2 separate regions of the Homo sapiens genome follow, and region 2 is linked to region 1. The links are contacts of gene promoters, found by promoter capture Hi-C in human tissues and cell types (Jung and others, 2019). All regions are on one chromosome and are shown on one strand. The core of a region is centred on a gene start or on the middle of the fragment in contact, and the rest is flanking DNA. Distances in the headings are between cores, read along the strand shown.

The links. The method cuts DNA at HindIII sites, captures the fragments that hold promoters and counts their contacts. A contact is called where the count stands out against the background at its distance.
Region 2: a contact is called between a fragment that was not itself captured here and the fragment with the promoter of LAMP5 in region 1, in 1 of the 25 tissues and cell types used here (dorsolateral prefrontal cortex).

The regions. Positions count from the first base shown.
Region 1 is chr20:9,512,779-9,518,462 of GRCh38, forward strand. LAMP5 (lysosomal associated membrane protein family member 5) reads left to right here and starts at 1,812. Exons shown (of 6, transcript NM_012261.4): 1 at 1,812-2,138; 2 at 2,675-2,847; 3 at 3,222-3,353; 4 at 3,478-3,583; 5 at 5,262-5,450. The coding sequence starts at 2,075. LAMP5-AS1 (LAMP5 antisense RNA 1) reads right to left here and starts at 2,220. Exons shown (of 5, transcript NR_109957.1): 1 at 1,986-2,220. RefSeq lists an enhancer at 2,747-3,331. The HindIII fragment of the contact is 16,129 bases long and covers 1-5,684 here.
Region 2 is chr20:7,581,372-7,586,788 of GRCh38, forward strand. No RefSeq gene overlaps it. Among named protein-coding and RNA genes, the nearest start is that of MIR8062, 210 kb to the left of the region's middle. RefSeq lists an enhancer at 3,711-4,005. The HindIII fragment of the contact is 4,418 bases long and covers 644-5,061 here.

The sequences.
Region 1 (5,684 bases), core at 562-3,061:
AGCCATCCCCTGAGTTATTTTCCCAATTTTTCAGATGAGAACAAATAAAATCTTCAGAAGGTCACAAAAATAATAAGTAGTGAATCCTGGACTGAAATCTACTCATTTCTGTCCTCATAAAATACTGGAGAGAGAGAGAGAGAGAGAGAATAAATACTTTATTACATGTCTCATTGTTTTCCAGTTTTACAGTACTACAGGAAAATAAGTGTTTAATAATAATTGCTAACATGAAAAAATGTAACACATACAAATGTTATCTCTTCCACTTTCAACTGATGAGAACTGACGTTTTATCAATCTTCTGTATAAAATCATTTCTGTTAAGTTCTGTAAAATTTGCATCAATTCTTCTATATATAATCATCTTTGTAAAGTTCTTGAGAAATGTTTGGATGAAATACTGAACTACAAACATAAAAGTCAAGATGTCAAAATATAATGTCAATTTTAATATTACTTTATACTTTGAATTGCTAGTGATCTAATGATTGATATAGGAATATGTTTGAAAGCCAAAAACATTATATAGATACTTTGTGGCAGATATGTCAGAATGTGATTATACTTAAAACAGCATTCTATAAATTTGAAGAATGTGAATTAATGATAGAGATTTCAGATTTCAGATTATTATTTGATATTGAATATAGATTTTTATGGAAGTCAAAATATGGAGTAAAAATATTATATAAGGAGAAATGAAGATAATCTCACAGAGTTAAAGCATGTGATTTTTGTATTTTAATTCTAACTGACCATGTGACATTTGGGAAGGTCATTTAATTTATTTGAGCCTCAGTTTTGGGGTATGTAAAACCACAGTAACTCATATCTTTCCTTGCCTACCCTCTAAGATTGGGGAGAATCAAATTAGATAATGCAGGTGAAATACTTTGCAATTTTCCCTTTAATATGACATTGTTTTATAACATTATATTACTGATGCAACATTTATTTGCATTATGAAATATCTTCTAAGGAATAAAATATTTGGACATCACTACAATTGATGAGGACTGCATGTGTATTTTTGAAAGCTGTATTCTGATTTACAGAGCAAAAATAAAAAATAAGCAAGCTACCAAATATGTAAATACAGGAATTAGCCCAGTAGTATTTGTTCTTCTGTTCCACTACAGGCTTTAGAGTAATATCAGTGTGTGTTTTTCTTACATAACTATGTGACATTACTTAGGGCATAATTCTAAAATTTCTGTCCTAGGAGACACTAGATAACTCTCAAAAACTTCTGATTTGCTTGCATCCCTTTTTGGCAGAGTGGTCACAGTATAATGCGGGAGGGTAGGTGACCCCAGAGTTCAGAGTCCTCATGCACCCGGGAGCAAAATTCACAGGAAAATAAGCCCACATGGAGCTACTGCATTGTCTGATGGCCTCGTTCGAGGAGGCGTCAATTTAACTTTAAACCCATGAGCTCATTGAGAGCAGGGGAGAGAAGGGGATGTCTCCAAATTCAGGAAACTGTTGCCATAGCATTTTCCCTTCTCTATTCCTGCATAGCCCTCCTCCCCCGAATCAGCAACAATTTTTGCTCCACCGTTTTCTTTCGGGAACCAGATGCGTTTTCAGAAGACAGTACTCCAGTGATAAGGTATCTACACCACTTAATAACTGTACCTGGTAAGGAGATTTAATAAGGCTGAGGGTGGTATTAAGTTTCTCAGAACAGACTCATCTTTGCGGATGCAGTTGCAGAACAGGAAACAGACCCAGGGAGAAGTTTAGTCCCCCCAGATCTCATTGGCCCTCCGCACAAGCCAAGCCACAGCCACTCCTGCCACACAATCGGATTGCTTTCAGCACTCGCAGCCGTGGACCGCCGTGCGGTCCTTTCCTCCGCAGTGAGCCGATTTGCTCTGCCAGCAGCTGTCGGTGCCGCGCTCGACACCGAGTCCTAGCTAGGCGCTCACAGAATACGCGCTCCCTCCCTCCCCCTTCTCTGTCCCCCGCCTCTCGCTCACCCCGGCCCACTCCAGCGGCGACTTTGAGGGATTCCCTCTCTGGCGGCCTCTGCAGCAGCACAGCCGGCCTCATTCGGGGCACTGCGAGTATGGATCTCCAAGGAAGAGGGGTCCCCAGCATCGACAGACTTCGAGTTCTCCTGATGTTGTTCCGTGAGTAGCGATTTGGCGACTGGGAGAGAGGACGGGCACTCTTTGCAGAGAACAGAGCCGGCAAAGTAAAGTCAATTAGCTTGAGATAAAAAATATGGCCCTTAATGTTTTGCGGTGTTTTTTCTTTTTTTCTTTTAGGGGAGGAGGGAGGGCCTTCCTCGCCGGTGGCAGGGAATTCCCCTGAGAGCCATACACCTCTGTGGCATATTCCAGACAGAGCCTAGACAGGCCAGCTTCGTGAGGTCAGAGCATTGGCAAGAAATATTTACTTTAAAATCCCAAGATGTAGAAAACAGCCAGCTATATTACAAACAAAGTCAGGATTTTTAATTTTTTTAACTGTATTTTCATTATAAATTAACAGCGAAGGAATGAGGCTTGTTAGACCCGGGTTAGAGAAACGGCTCGTAGAGCGCACAGCTGCTGGCAGAGAACTTTGTCACTCCAAAGCCTGCAGAGCACTGTCTCCCCACCCTAGCGCCCGAGACGCGTGGGCTGAGCCCTGAACTGATGGAATTGTTTTGTTTGTTCCGCAGATACAATGGCTCAAATCATGGCAGAACAAGAAGTGGAAAATCTCTCAGGCCTTTCCACTAACCCTGAAAAAGATATATTTGTGGTGCGGGAAAATGGGACGACGTGTCTCATGGCAGAGTTTGCAGCCAAATTTATTGTACCTTATGATGTGTGGGCCAGCAACTACGTAGATGTAAGGAATCTTTCCCCCCCCTCAGCTTGCTCCTAGGGCTCCAGGGCGAAGGGCACCCTTCCTCAAGGCTCTTCGAAGACCTGGGTTGCCCGCCTTCTTTCCCACACCCCGGCAGGCTGCTCCCGAATGCTGCATGGGGATTCCAGCTTGTAATGCCTTCTGTTCCCCTGCCTGCTTTGAAAGTAAACCCCCTTCTCTCCGCTTCCCTATCGGGGCTGCACGTAGAGCATCTAACCGCATGTTCCCGGAACCTGGGATGCGCGCGCGCAAAGGAGCGCCCAAGCGTGCAACCCAGAGTTTGGACGCGCCGCCCTTTACAGCCCCCGCCCCGGGGCCGGGCGAGCTGAGGGGGCGCGGGGCGTCTGTGTTCCCAGCTGATCACAGAACAGGCCGATATCGCATTGACCCGGGGAGCTGAGGTGAAGGGCCGCTGTGGCCACAGCCAGTCGGAGCTGCAAGTGTTCTGGGTGGATCGCGCATATGCACTCAAAATGCTCTTTGTAAAGGTAACTCCGAGCCCAGCGGGCAGAGGGGCCGCAGGCTCCGCGTGGGTGTGGGAAGTGGCGGCCCCTAGGTTTAAGAACCCAGACGCTGCGGGGACGATTGAAGCGCACCTCCCCGGCTCAACAGGAAAGCCACAACATGTCCAAGGGACCTGAGGCGACTTGGAGGCTGAGCAAAGTGCAGTTTGTCTACGACTCCTCGGAGAAAACCCACTTCAAAGACGCAGTCAGTGGTGAGTGGAGGCTGGCATGGCTGGGGAGGGAGCCTGGGAACTCGCAGAACAGGCTTGGAGAGAGAATTCCTCAAGGTTTTGGAAACCGTCCCACGCTTTGAGGTCCCAGGCCAAGTCTTCCCTCGGCTTGCTCTTTAGGGCGGAAGAGGCGGGAGCGCCCATGAGTCTTCTGGGTCTCAGGCCTTGTAGATCCGCCAGGAACCGCAGGCGTGGGGACCCAAACGTCACCCGTGGCCTGATCCTAGATAAGAAGTCCCTTGAAGGCCTGTCGTTCCCTGGTGCTTCAAAACGACCTCTTATGATTTGGCCTTTGAAGGACCACGGAGAAGGGCAAAGCTGCATTTTAATTTTCTTCCGCATCCTGGTTTTGTTTCTTATGCGCTAAAACTGCAAGGGGGCAGTGCGACTTTCCTTTTCAGTCAGGATGTGATGGCCTTCAGTGTCTTTTTGCGCATGGCAGCATGGCTCGCACGGGATATTCAGTCATCGACTGCAGCTACCTGACAGTGGATTCTGCACCATGTATAATTTACTAGCGTTTCTGGCCCATCCCTCCGACAACTCAGCCAGATCCTCCTCGGCAAAACGAGCGTTCATCCCCCAAATAACAATATTCCTATCTGCAGACACCGTCAAAGACCACATTTAAATTTATTTTATTCTTTATAAGTTGTCTATTTCACTCATAATGAGGCCCTTCATCACCCAGGCACCTGAGTTGGGAAAGGATTTTTATTGAATACATAAAAATACATGTGTCATCTTTCCCTTTTCACCCCTTTTTGTTATCACAGTAAAAGGAGGATTTTTTCTTTTTCATCAAAGTTTAGATGCAAGATGTCCCCCAGTTAAATTAGACCAAAAAGGAAAAAGGAAAAATCAAACTTAGGTCAGAAAAAGAGCAATGGGAGGCAGACCTTCAGAGGGGATGTATGTGTGTAAGGACAAGCATCCAGAGGACCAGCAATCTGTCCGGCTTTGTTGAGGAAGATGTTTTATTCTTTGCCAGGCCCGTGTGAAATGTGGAAAACCAAGTCACTGTTCCTTCTGTGTCTTTGGAATCTCCATTATTAGGGATTTTTTTTTTCTTTTTTGAAGTGCGGTCTCACTCTGTCCACCAGGGTGGAGGGCAGTGGCACCACCATAGATCACCACAGCCTGGAGTAAGCTACTGGGCTCAAGAGATTCTCCCACCCCAGTTTCCCCAGTAGCTGGGACTACAGGCATGTGTCACCATGCCAGACTAATTTTGTAAATGTATGTGTGTGTGTGTGTATTTGTAGAGACAGAGTCTCACTATGTTGCTCAGGCTGGTCTAGAAATCTTGGGCTCAAACGATCCTCCCACCTTGACCTCTGAAAGTTTTGGGATTACAGGCAGGATCCACCATGCCCAGCCTAGGTTTTATACAGTAACAAGGGTTGGGTTTTTAAGTATCATTCTCCTCTTCAAAAAAGGAGTTCCAAATTAATATTGAAAGAGCCCTGGCTCTCAAGATAATGGGTGTGTTTGTCCTTCATCACCACTTGATGCCATTTGTAGAGCCCTAGCCCTGGCAAGGGAACAGAGAGGACAGGAGGGGTGTGGTGTCTGGAACTGAGAGGCAATAGCCAGCTCTCTGGCACATTAGGTTAGGAACAATGAGGGTTCTAACTATTGCTCTGGGCTCTTGCTGTAGCTGGGAAGCACACAGCCAACTCGCACCACCTCTCTGCCTTGGTCACCCCCGCTGGGAAGTCCTATGAGTGTCAAGCTCAACAAACCATTTCACTGGCCTCTAGTGATCCGCAGAAGACGGTCACCATGATCCTGTCTGCGGTCCACATCCAACCTTTTGACATTATCTCAGATTTTGTCTTCAGTGAAGGTAAGTTGTTGGGGGATGGAGGGGAAGAAGACCTAGTTTATTTCAGGAAGGATGAGAGAGGGACCTACCAGGGCCCCAGGATGTTACCACTTGGATTTCCTCTAGGTTGAAATGACACTGCCTGCCTCTTTAATAATTTTCAAAGACTAAAAAAGCAGTAAGCTGAATGTATGAACTTATCTCAGTAGTTCTTTCTTTCTCCCTCCCAGCCTCCTCCCCGTTTACCTTCACTTT
Region 2 (5,417 bases), core at 1,603-4,102, 1.9 Mb before region 1:
GTATATAATTACTCTATTAAAGACCATAGGTTACTTTGAGGAGGGCTGGGAGAAAGAATAACAGTATAAATTTTGGCAGTGTACAGAGATCTTTCCATAAGTGGACCTAGATTCCTCTTTATTCAAAAGATTCTGGGTCTTTAAACTGGCTCAAGTCTGGAAATCGATCGAGGCGGGGGGCCATGTCTTTCTGTTTTCGTGATTCAGGTTAGACTTTTGGTAACTTAACCTAGAAATTTTCTGCTTATACAGATCAAATAAGAATTTAGTATGCTTTCTACTTATTTCACTTCAAGGACCATCCATGGTAAATTAGCCAACACCAGAGGTCTGCGCAAGTCAGACTATTCTGATTGCTGCTTCATCTCTGCTGTCCTTCACAGTAACTACTTCTACCTTGACTTGGGCCGCTGAGTGCCACCACTTGACCCCTGGCACCCCAGGATCCAATTACTCACATTGTATTTAGGTTTTCCAATTTACTGACAGCAGTTCCCATTGCAGAGTCTGGCCTATAGAGAAGAACAGTCACAGAGCACTTAAATCATGTTAGGTTTTCCATTACAAATTTATTTCTCACAGTATTGGTGAAAGGTATGTCTTCTGTATCCTCCCAGTGTGAGCGAGTTGGTTTTAAATGACAAACTCACTGCGACATTCTAATCTCCCTAGGCCTTTGAATCCCCTCCTCCACAGTAAACCCAGGCAGGTCTGACATTACTGTCAGCCGCCTGTTGTAGACCCACATCCATAAATTTTGTCTGATGCAACTTTGTTTCTTCTACTATTATCCCATACCTTTAGTATCTATTCCTACCCATGTTCCCCAGATTTCTTTCTACATATTTAGAAAACCAAGTGGATATTTTGAGTGTAGTATACCTCTTTGTGTGTAACACATTGTACCTGCCTTTAGAGACCTACCAGACCTTAAGTCTGGTATAGATACAGAAACAAAGACAGTGGGTTCTTTACCTTTTCTTTTTATATTAATTATTGTATTTTTTTTCCAAAATGCATTCTTAGGCTAAAAGTGTGGGTTCTTAGCAGGACAGCGAGGACTTACTTTTATGGCAACTTTTTCAGGGGATGTCATTGTTGTTTTCTCAGACAATCATAGTTAATCCCCTTAGATGAGAGTGCAGAAGCCACATTCCCAATGGGGAGGAAGAGGTCTCTTCCGCTGGCAAGAAAAATTTAGGGGCTCAATGTTCCCAATTTCATGAGGATCTTCCCACATAGCCCCATTTCAACTTTCCTTCCCTATCCATGTCATTCTTTCCCAATCAGTGCCCTCACTTCAACAGTGCACATCCTACAAATCTGGGTCTATTTGCACTGTAATTCAAGATGAAGGCCTGATTTTAGTTTTCAGCATCTCAACCCTACAGCTGTAGGAGACCAAGGTCTCCATTGGGGCAGATATAAAAGCTGTCAGATCATTTATGTAGCATTTAAGCTGGAAACTCAAATTCCTAAGCTAATTCTTTATTTTTCCCACTTTTTCCAGCAACATTATTAGGAGAATCATGTCAACCTACTATTCATTAGTTTGCCAAGAACGTTCAAAAGCATCATAGACACAATTCCCCAAGTCCTTGATCCTTATAAATGGTTGGTAAGGAGTAACCAATGGTGATATTTTGTTTATCCCTTTTGCCATTTCAGGGCCATGGACTATCTGTGTTCTCTTAACTCCTAGAAATAGTGTTATTAGTGCCTTTAAACCTAATCAGATAAGAGAGCCATTTCCAGGAATTCCAGAACCAATTCATAAAACTCATGCCTAAAATTCTGTTCCTGTAAAACCATTCTAGGTACCAAAATCTGGATGAGGCTTTTCCAGGGAAATAAAATAATAGGCAATTATGTACACACACAAACTCACACATACACATACATTAGATTTATATATATATATATATATATATCTTCATATATATATATTCCTAAATATATATATACATACATATTTAGGAATTGGCTCACATGATTGTGAAGCCTGAGAAGTCTCAAGAACTGCAGTCAGCAAGCTGTTGACCTGGGAAAGCCAATAGTATCATTTCAGCCCACATCCACAGACCTGAGAACCAGGAGAACCAATGGTGTCAGTTTCAGTCTCAATCTACAGGCTTCAAACCCAGGAGATCTGATGGTATAAGTTCCAGCTCAAAAGCCTGCAGGCTTGAAACCCAGGAGTAGTTGATGTTACAATTTGAGTCAGAAGACAGGAAAACAAACAAACAAACAACAACAACAAAACTATTGTCCCAGCTCAATCAGTCAGGCAAGAGGAATGCCTACTTATTTATGATCAGGTCAGATTTTTGCTCTATTCCAGCCTTCAGCTGTGTGGATACAGGCCATTTACATTAGGAGGCCAATCACATTACTCAGTCTACTGATTAAAATGTTAGTCTTATCCAAAAACACCTACAGAGACACACTGAGAAAAATGTTTGACCAAATATCTGGGCACACAATGGCCCAGTCAAGTTGACACACAAAATTAATTATCATGAATACTCACCTCAAGAGTTTACACAAATATTAAATGAGATAATAGATATAAGTACCTAGTTAAGCCCAAGTATATAGTATACTTTCAACAAATGTTGATCATTGTCAGAATTAGTTATTACTATTAAGTTCATGGTAGAAAATGTGTTAAGTATTGGTCCAAGAATAGCAAGGTTGAGAGTAGAACTGGGCCACTACTCTACCAGATTCTGGAAAACCAAGGCTAAGAATAATTTCTTTAAAGATTATGCTGATACTAGATTCTTCTTGGGAGTAAAAGGCTTACACTTATCATTGATCCCTGTGGAAATTTTACCTCCTAGTTTTGTGGGTTAAAGCCAAATCTTAAGTGCCTTACTACTTCTAAGCACAGGCACTTTAAGAGCGCAAAGAAGTATTGGAGAGAGGTATAGATTTAAGTGAAAGTTCATACCAAATTTTTAAACTTGAATCATATGATTTGATTTAGTCTCTTAATCTATAATAGTTAATGTAAGTTTCTTTTGCTTCTTCCTAGAAAGAATGACACTAAGGGTTTGATAGTAAAACATATATACTAATGGATAGATTTTCGAGCATGTCTGGTTTCACAGTGATAACACTGATTAGGACCATGCACACAGACATTCTTGATTACAGGTCTTACAGCCATCATGTTAAAGATTTGCCTCCAGCATTCACGCACACAGGCTGCTCTACATTGCCACAGCTTTGCATCCATGATTATTATTTTTCAATTTTAAATTATGCATTGAAGCCATATTTACAAGTGCACATATCATAAATGTACAGATTATTAAATTGTTACAAAGTGTGTAGTCTTATAAGCAAGAGCCAGATCAATAAATACAAGATTTTAATCATTAGTTTCCTGCTGCTGTAAGAATATAGACCCTTAACCCCTAGAATGAAAGCAAACTGCCATTCTATAATTAACAAAGTAGCATCTATGGTTAGAGTCAGGGTTCAACTCTCAGCTCCACCACTGGCTAATCCCTCTCTGCCTAACTTTTCTCATTTGTAAAATAAGCATAATAATATACCTATCTCATGGGTATATTAAATGAGTTAATACATGTGAAGAGCTCAGAAATGCCTGGCTCATAAGAAGCTCTCAATAAATGTAAGCCATATTTATTGCATAGTTCATTTCCCCTCATACTACTTGTTACCAGATGGTGCCTGAAATGACATGAAGTGCTTGCTGAATGAATAGGAAGGAAAAATAAGAGTCCTTTACCTAACAGAATATAAAGTTTCAATGAAATTACACCATGCAGAGAAAGCAATTTGTCCTGTTTACATGGAAGACAAACAAGGAACTGGACTTTGGCTTTGAGCTGTGTGAATGGGAGATGGCATTGCTTCCGTGACCCACATTCACATTCAATAACAAGACCAGAGAGAAACAGCTTTTAGGAGCCCAACAGGAATAGTCACCTAAGAGTTGCTATTTGACTAAACAGCTACTCCATTCTTTTCTTCTACACAGCCGTTCCTTGCACCTTTCAACTGTGTGGCAATATGACTCTCCTGAGATTGAGAAACAGTGTGTCAGGTTCCATTCATCCTTAACATAACAGAGGAGTGGTAGCTACAGTATACCAGAAAGGGAGCTTTCATTGATCTGCAGCACTCTGTTTCCGTCACAGGGAAGAATCTTCTTGCAACCAGGGCACTAGAGAACTGAACAGCCAAGTAAAATATTGGGCAACATCGAGTCACCCGCACGCCCACATAGAGTCCCAATTTAGCAAAAGAGTAAAGTTCATGAGCAAGACCATCACTAATAATTTGCCACAAAGAGTACCAATTTTTCTGTTTTATTTGTGAAGTGTTGCAAAATGCTTGCTGCTGATCCTCCCATTGATTTAAGTACATCTGAACCATTTTTTTTCTATTTCCAACTACAGAAATCTGTAATTTATTGAGCTATTTTTAGCTACAAACTTTCCTTGTTGAAATCTCTGGAGTTAGAAATCTAACAGGCAAGAGGAATTAAACAAGGATCATGTAAATTAGGAAGTGTATGCAAAAGATTATTTGCTGATGTATTGGTATTGTGGAGGTACTATACCCAGCTAGAAGTCTTGCTGCAGTCTGTGGCTGTTATTTAAAAGTTATTCAAGAATTACTCTTTTCATATATAAATTATATGGGTGAATACTTAAGAAGTTCTGTGATTTCTTCATTTGCACGCTTCCTTAAGCTGCCAAGCTGTTTCAGAAAAAACAAGCAAACAAAACATTCAATAGCCCAGTTATTTCGCTTTTTTTTACTAAACAGGTGTTTCATTCCATGAGACAATAACACTGAAATTATGATATATATTACATCATTGTTTACCATTGAATACTGGCCAGAGGGCATTGCCGACATTCATATAGTTCTTGGTGTACATGTGATACAAATTACCCATGATGTCATTAGAGAATTGAAATGCAAAGAGAGTAAGAAAAATCTTAGAATGTAGTTGAAATACCCTTGAATTTTCACCATTGTTAGGGTTATTTTTTCTAGTATATTCATCTGAAGCTTCTCCTAAAAGCTTAGATTAGACATTGTCATATTTTGTTTACGTTTATTGAAAATCAGATCATTTGTCACATTTAGGCACTCCTCAAGCCTCTCAATGGCAAACTACCTCATTTTCTGGCAGAAGACAGAGCATGAGAATTGAAGCAATAGACTTTACATAAAGTACACTGTGTACTTCTTCCCCACGGTAAGAATAGTTTCCATCCCAGACACACTCCAAAACCTTCCATGATTTTGATGACAGTAGCAGTAAAAAATTACTTCACATTTACCAAAATGGGCAACAATAAATCTCAAGTTTCTTTTCACAGCTTTGACAATCTTAACTTACCAATTGAGAAATTTACTTAGTAAGACTA